Linked DNA regions of Homo sapiens: region 2 is linked to region 1. Evidence: promoter capture Hi-C in human tissues and cell types (Jung and others, 2019). All regions are on one chromosome and are shown on one strand. Each heading gives the region's core, a stretch centred on a gene start or on the middle of the fragment in contact. The rest is flanking DNA. Distances are from core to core; before and after follow the strand shown.

Evidence for each region. Contacts are between HindIII fragments. The study calls those that stand out against the background at their distance.
Region 2: a contact is called between a fragment that was not itself captured here and the fragment with the promoter of CYP19A1 in region 1, in 2 of the 25 tissues and cell types used here (adrenal gland and lymphoblastoid cells).

Annotation. Positions count from the first base shown.
Region 1 is chr15:51,336,431-51,340,170 of GRCh38, forward strand. It overlaps CYP19A1 (cytochrome P450 family 19 subfamily A member 1), which reads right to left and starts at 2,166. Exons shown (of 10, transcript NM_000103.4): 1 at 2,065-2,166. RefSeq lists promoters at 2,091-2,668, 2,091-2,409, an enhancer at 2,330-2,409 and cis regulatory regions at 2,361-2,378, 2,443-2,472. The HindIII fragment of the contact is 2,870 bases long and covers 2,045-3,740 here.
Region 2 is chr15:51,266,298-51,270,037 of GRCh38, forward strand. The region is part of intron 1 of CYP19A1 (cytochrome P450 family 19 subfamily A member 1); the gene reads right to left. All of the region lies in intron 1 of MIR4713HG (MIR4713 host gene), which reads left to right. Among named protein-coding and RNA genes, the nearest start is that of MIR4713, 26 kb to the left of the region's middle. RefSeq lists an enhancer at 569-1,202. The HindIII fragment of the contact is 4,024 bases long and covers 1-3,740 here.

The DNA.
Region 1 (3,740 bases), core at 916-3,415:
GAGTTAAAACCATAAGAGGCTGAGTGGAAGATGCATGTGGTGACAACTTTTAGGGTGGCTCTCTCCCTAATCACCAGTGTGGTGGAAGGGTGGTGGGGCAGTAAAACCATCAAAAGTCACAGTGTAGCTGTCAATCTCATCACTGAAGACAAGAATACCCAAGTGCCAGGCCAGGAAAATTATTTACTTCACAATCAGGAAGAAATGCTGTGGAACTAAAGTTGGGGTATATTCTTGAATTTGATTTTATTCTCCAGAGCCCTAAAGTTAACCAGCTGGAATCATTTTTAAGGACCATTCTATTTAACTTTTGGAAATGAAGCATCTGCCTTTTAATGGAAAAACTACTTCTCATTGTAAAGATAGCACACAATGTTCTTGGCTGCTTTGGTCTCCAAAAAAAGGGAATTGAGATATCTCCCTGTGTCCGCATTATATCCTGAGCCTCCTGTGTCAACAAAACAGGCCAGATTGATAGCTTTTTTTTTTTTTTAATAATAAGTAAAAAGTAGCAGCCCATTCTGTGAAGTATCAGGCAGGGCAGGCTATGCAGGCATATCTGCCTCTCAAGAAATCTCAAGAGGCTTAGGGATTCACACTGAAAGGCTCCATATAACCAACCTCAAAGCCATGGTATTCAGACGAGAACCCAAGTTTATCGTGCATTCAAAAGTTCTGTTCCTCAAAAAGCATCTACAAAGTGTGATTAGCTAATGAATCCATTAATCAAATATTCCTACTTGGCACAAGTCCCTGCTGTGAGAGGACAGTTAAGATAGGTCCCTGCCTTAAGAATATTGTAACCCAACTGAAGAAATAGGATGTGGAAGAACTAAGATGTCGATTAACAGCACAAGGCACAGAAGAACTAAAGTGTCAACTAACAGCACAAGGCACACACAGTGTAAGTCTCAGCCAGTTCATATGGCCCATATCCAACAATACCAACCCGTGTTGAACATTTATTATACAAGTGCTTTACAAGTATTTTCTTATTAAAGCTTCACAACCCTATGAAATAGATACAATTACAGTCTCTTTAAAGAACTTGAGTAGCATATCTAAAGTCATGCAGTTAAAAAACAGTTTCAAGGTCAGGTCTGATTCCAAAGCCCAGGTGCATAACCACAGAGCCCCTGCAGCTTGTAGAGCTCACAGTGCTTGGGACTGGCCTAGGAAGTCAAGGCTAGATGAGGAAGGGTACTCGGAGTTAGGCCTTAAAGTGGGCAACACTGAAATAGGCCAGTGATGGAGATAGGTCACTGTGTGGCACTGCGGTGGAAAGAGGGTTGGAGAGAGAAGATAGAGGAGAAGAGGAAAGAGGGCAGAGCATGGCAGCTGCTTGGGCACAGCCACTTTAGGGTGAGAGATGAGTGAAGATGTCTACCTTGTAGGCCATATCAACATGTCCCCCTTCTTCTGTGAAAAATGCCATCATCCCACACAGGAAGAGTTGGAGAGGGATCTGACAGTGGAGTCTGGTAGGAAAGGAGTCTGGCTTTTCATTTGCGCTTCCTTCTGCCCCTCTTGCCCCAGAGCAATATCCCAGGCTTTCCACCAACCCAGCCCACGGGGTGGCCATGCTACAAGCCTTTTGAGTCCTGCATCCCAAGAGGGGCAGCTTCTTGGCCTGAAGTTGTCTAATAGAGCCTGCCTGGCTCCAAGCAGGCCTCATCTCTGCTCTGTCTACTGGATCTGGGCTCTGAACTGGGGTGGGAGGTGGGGAAATGGGGAGGCTGGTTCAGGCTACCACTTCCTCTCCTCACCATTGGATAGCCAGCCTTTCAAGGAAAGTAGGGGGCCAGTTCTGTGGCATAGAACAGTATAGTTCTTAGGCCCTCCTATTTCAGAAAAACACTCAAGCAGTGTTTTCCCTCTGCTCTCACACCACGACAACAGTCATCAACACAGAAGACTTCTGCGACCAAATGTAGGGGATTTTCCCCCACACACCAAGCAGCGGGCACCAGCTGGGTGTCCTCCAACTCAGTTCCAACACTATCTACCTGGAAAGAGTGTCTGATCCCACAGGTTGAGGGCTCAGTCAGATTAAGAGATACATACGCGACGTCTGGAAGATCCCGAGCACAGGACCTTCCGTCCTGATAGGATAAGTTCTTCTTCACCTTCCTGTTTGCCTCCACGTGTTCAGCCCTCCAGAAACTCCCTGAACCCTGTCCTTTGGGCCTTTTATGGAGATTTCATTTGTTGTCCATGACTGAAGCATGTGATTGAACAAAATGTGATTGGACAAAAAGGGTATGATCTAATCTCAGCAAGGTCTGTCTGTCCAGATTCTTCTTCCTCTCTTTGTGCAGCATTCCTTCCTCCAGGGTATGGGGCATGACCTCCTCTGGAATGAGGGTCTTATGACCCACAATCAGATTATAGAGTCCCGCCTTGGGTGGATGAAAGGAGGGCAAAGAAGGCCAGAGAAATATTCTGTTTCCTGAGGCCTAAAGCACCTCTACATTATAGCAAAAGACCTCAGCAAGTGTCATGGGAGTTATGGACAAGAACCATGGACAAAAATCTATATACATGTAATCATAAGATCACACCCCCCACCACACACCACATTGTTCTACATAGAAGTGCCTTCACTATACAGCTTTTCATTTATTCATTCGTTCATTCACTCATTTATTCAACGGGTAATAGTGAATTCCAAATCAGGAACTGTGCTATGTGTTGGGGGTGACATGGCCCCTAGCCTCAGGAGGCTTCTATTCCATGGTTAATGGTGGGTATTGCTGAGAGATGATCAGTCAACAGTAACTGCAATGAATGTTAGGATAAAGAGAAGCCCAGAAGGCTCCACGGTGTTCCAGCTGCTCACAGGGTAATCTGCCTGTCTTTTTTACTTCCGTATCTCCAATGCCCATTATCATACCAGGCACAGGAAGTGCTCAGTTAAGTGTTTACTGAATTAAATGAAGATCTGAATGATGCTGAGTGTCAACCCTCCCTCTCAGTGGCTCCTCCCCATTGGCCCTAAACCTGATACCTGGATGAAAAGAGATAAGGATACATGACAGTTCTTCAAGTAGGTCACAGAACGTTTGAGTTGGGAGGAAATGGACAAAGCTTTTTACATCACTGCCATCCCCTCCCAGTCATCATATCCCCACAGTGGGGGTACTTTATGAAACACTTGGACCTTCATGCTTTCCTAATTTCTTCTTATCCTGTATGCTCTTCTAAGAATACTGAAGTTGGTCAATGTTCCTATTAAAACTCAGGAATCTAAACTTTGACTCAGAATTTCTGATTGAGATGTCACTTCAGTTTCCTTGTGCATTCTCAGAGGCTCTACCCTGGCTCACCCTGGAGAGTAGGGGGCAAGAAGTCTGATACTACTCAGCTTTCTCTCCTGTGCCAAAAAATCCTACCTGCAAGAATTGGTATGTGTATTAGTCCATTCTTGCCTTGCTATAAAGAAAAGCCCGAGACTGGGTAACTTACAAGAAAAGAAGTTTAATTGGCTCATGGTTCCACAGGCTGAACAGGAAGCATGGCAGCACCTGCATCTGGGGAGGCCTCAGGGAGCTTTTACTCATGGAGGAAGGCAAAGCAGGAGCAGGAACATCTCACATGGTGGGAGCAGGAGGAAGAGGGGCCAGGAGAGATGCTACACACTTTTAAACAACCAGATCTCATGATAACTCACTATCATGAGAACAGCACTGAGGGGATGGTGCTAAACCATTCATGAAGGACCACTCCCATGATCCAGTCAC
Region 2 (3,740 bases), core at 558-3,057, 70 kb before region 1:
CTAAGAGGTTAAACTATGTACCCAAGGTCCCACAGCTAATTAGTGACAGAGTTTGGAGCCCAGGCCACCTGTCTCTCATTCCAACCAGTGCCCCCTAAAGATGCGATTGCTTCGTCCTGCCTATGGAAGGAGGACTGAGTGGGAAGCCTCCCCTGTGGCAGGAAGAGAAGCACCTCCCTCCTCATCTAGACGAAGGTGGACAAGCTTCTGCCAGTCCTTCTTCAAACCTCGGAGTCGAGGATTCCTGCACAATTTCTATCAGGCCCTAAGCCTTTTAGTGGAACTTTCCAAGTTTATTTTTATTTTGAAATTCCATGGGTTTACTTCATTTGTAGCACATGTTTCCTAAAAACAGCTCATCTCTGCTCTTGCCCTTTTAGTATAAGCTCTCGAAAGCAGCCCCGGACCGTGTGAGAAAGCTGGAGGCAAAGAGCTGACAAATCACGGAGGTCCCCTAATCTGTGGAAGGCCCCAGGGCAGGGCACGGAAAGCCTTCCCTGGTCTGGTCTTCCCTTCCGCTCTTTTGGTGCCGTTGAGTCGTTGTCTGACTAGAGGAGCTTTCATTCTGGAAGGGAAGGCATTGCCAGTGAGCTTTACACATTTTACTATGCTCTCCACGATGTGACTGTTGTCATGGTTACTTTTTTCACCAAATTGAGACCCTCAGCCTTATTCCACACTGGAGAGGAAGTCAAAGAACAGGGCAGTCTGCATCCAGAAGAAAATCTGAGGTGGGCAGGAACTTTCCCTGCTTCTACCCAGACACATTCCCTGCTCTGGAGAGCAAAGCTGCCCTCCCGTTTCCTGCTTTTCATGACAAAGATTGGGTCTCTGTCACTCCCAAGCAGGGCGAATCGAGCCAGATTTTTGTTGGACGCTTTCAGGAGCAAAACCAGCTCCTCGTATTGTGTCCCATTCACAGCTGGAGCAGCTCGGGCACTAGGCGAGGCAGGGGGTGCGGCGAGCGGTCTCCAGCCGGCTGCCTGCGGTCGGTGCCGCCCGCAGAATCTGCGCGGCCCAGTGCAAAATAAAAACGCGGGGCCCCGCGTTCAAAAAGCAGGAAAAAGCCTTTCCCTTTCTCCCGTGGTCTTTCTGTCCACCTGTCTCGGCAGGGTTTATTTGCTAGTTAAGTTGCGCTGGCTTGAGCACAGGGACGCTGGCGGGCCAAAGGCCGACCCTCACAGGCGACCCAGCGTGGCGGCGAGGTCCCTTGGCTGTACGCCGAGGTCTGCGCCGCCCCCACGTCCGTGGCCGGCCACTGCCCAGGGCGGAGGGCAGCGGTGTTCGCCGGGTGGGGGCCCAGAACCTGTCCCAGGAAGACGCAGGAGACGCGACCGGGGTGAGACAAGAGTCCAAGCTCTCAAGCATCCACTGTGTTATTGCACTTCACTTACAATACACGAATTTGAAGGAAAAATGATTAAGAATTTCATATGGTGACTGCAGAGCATTCATTAGATTCCAAGCGGGACCCCTTCTGAGCGCGGGACCCTATGGCGGATTGCCATTGAAACCAGCCCTGCCGGCTCCCCATGCCCCGGGGAAGGGTCTTCCCTGTGCCCACCCCAGCTTAGCAGGCGAGAGCACTGGAAGGAGCCTGAACGCCACAACTGGTTGGCACTAGGCATTGCTCCGCCTTCGCCCCTCCCCACCCTGGGGAAGAAGCAGATACTAAGTAGATAAATATGAAAGCAAAGTACCATATCACTTTCCCCTAGGTTTCCTCCAGAGCACGTGTCAAATCTTTTTACTGTAGAGGTGGGGTTGCTTTCCTTCCATCAGACCCACCCTCCCCCATCCCATTTAAAGGACTTCGCCAAAGCATAAGTAACATGCAATAAACCTCAAATATTTAAAGTGTACTATTTTATGAGCTCTAACATATACACATGCACTTGTGAAACCATTACAAAATCAAGGTGGCATTTAATTTCCATCACCCACTTGTCACCCATCCTTCCTCCACACCCATCCCCTGATAACCACTGATTTGCTCCCTGTCATTATTGATCAGTTCGTGCTTTCTGGAATTCTATTGTCATAATCAAACAGTCTGTACTCTTTTTCATCTGGCTTCTTTTACTTAGCATATTGATTTTGAGTTTCATTCTTATTGTTCATATCAATAGTTTGTTCCTTAACATTGCTGAGCAGTACTCAATTGCATAGCTATGCCACAGTTTACCCATTCACTTCTTAAGGAGCATTTCCATCGTTTCCTTCCCCCCCCCCCTTTTTTTTTGGCTGTTTCAAGCAAGGCTATGATGGATGTCAGTGCACAAGTCTTTGTGTGGACATATATTTCACTTCTCTTGAGTAAAAATCTAACAGTGGCTGTATAGCAGGTGTATATTTAACTTTTTAAGAAACTGCCAAATTATCTTCCGAGGTTCCACTGCATTCCCATCAGCAGTATATGAGAGTTACAGTTGCTTCACATTCTCAGTCTTTGAATTTTAGCCATTCTAGAGGTATCTGATTGCGATCTTAATTTGCATTTTCCTGATTATTAATAATTTTGAGCATTTTCAAATGAACTTACTGGCCATTCATATATCTTTTATGAAGCATCTGGCCAAATCTTTTTTCCCATTTAAAAAAATGGGGTTGTCTTATTGACTTTTTTAATATATATATATTCTGGATTCGAGTTGTCTGATACGTGTTGTTTTGAATACTTTATCTTAGTCTGTGCTCTGCTTTATTTTCTTTGTGTCTATTGAGGATTAAGTTTTAAATTTTTGATCAAGTTTGTCAAGTGTCTTTATGGCTCCTACTTTTTTTGTGTTCTGAGAGACCTTTGTCTACTCCAAGGTCACCTCCTCTTTTCTTCTGTAAGTGTAATAGTTTTAGGTTTTATATGTAGGTCTATGATCCATTTTGAGTTAAATTTTGTATATGGTATGAGGTAAGGGTTAATAGGGTTATTATTTTTTCTTTCTTATGGATATATCCAGCACCGTTTTTTTGAAAAGGCCCTTTTCCCCCCTCAAATTGAATTGTCTTAGTACTTTTATTAAAAATTGGCAATATATGCATGGGTCTATTTCTGGATTTTCTGTTCTGTTCCATTAATCTATATGTTTATTTTTTGCCAACACAAAACTATTTTGATTACTATAGCTATAGTAGGTCTTGAAATATAAAAGCAAGATTAGTAAATTGGAGGATGAGCTCTCCAACTTGGTTCTTTTTTTTTTAAATTACTTTATGGGGTTGCCATGGAGGTGGACTGCTCAAATCTCCTTAAAACAACAACAACTACCACTACTACTACTATTTGGAGCATAGTTGACAGTTCCACCCTATGGATTCACCACCATGTTCACAGAAAGGCCATATTTCTCTGGGTAGCTCCTAAACAATGACAAGCATGCTAAGGGTACTAGTGGTAGCCCATTCCAGCCAAGGCAGGACTCTTCCAACAGGCAATCTTTGCTTGGGGGTTCCCTACTGCTGACTGAAACTGTCTCAGAGCTATACTGTTGTCTGAAGCCCTTTCCACACAACTCGCCCTTCCCTCTCTTCTTTCACAGATTCCAGACTACACTGGGGACTGAAAGCTTTTTGGCCTACTCCCGCTCCCTCCCTTTTTATCTTTCCCAGTCATTTGCCCCTGTAAACCTCTTGTATGTTTAATGCAGTCTTGCCAACTGCTTCTTAAAGGTTCCTAACAAACACACACTGAAATTCTACCCCAAAAAGTCTGCTGAAATTTTAAATGGAAGTTTACTGGCTCT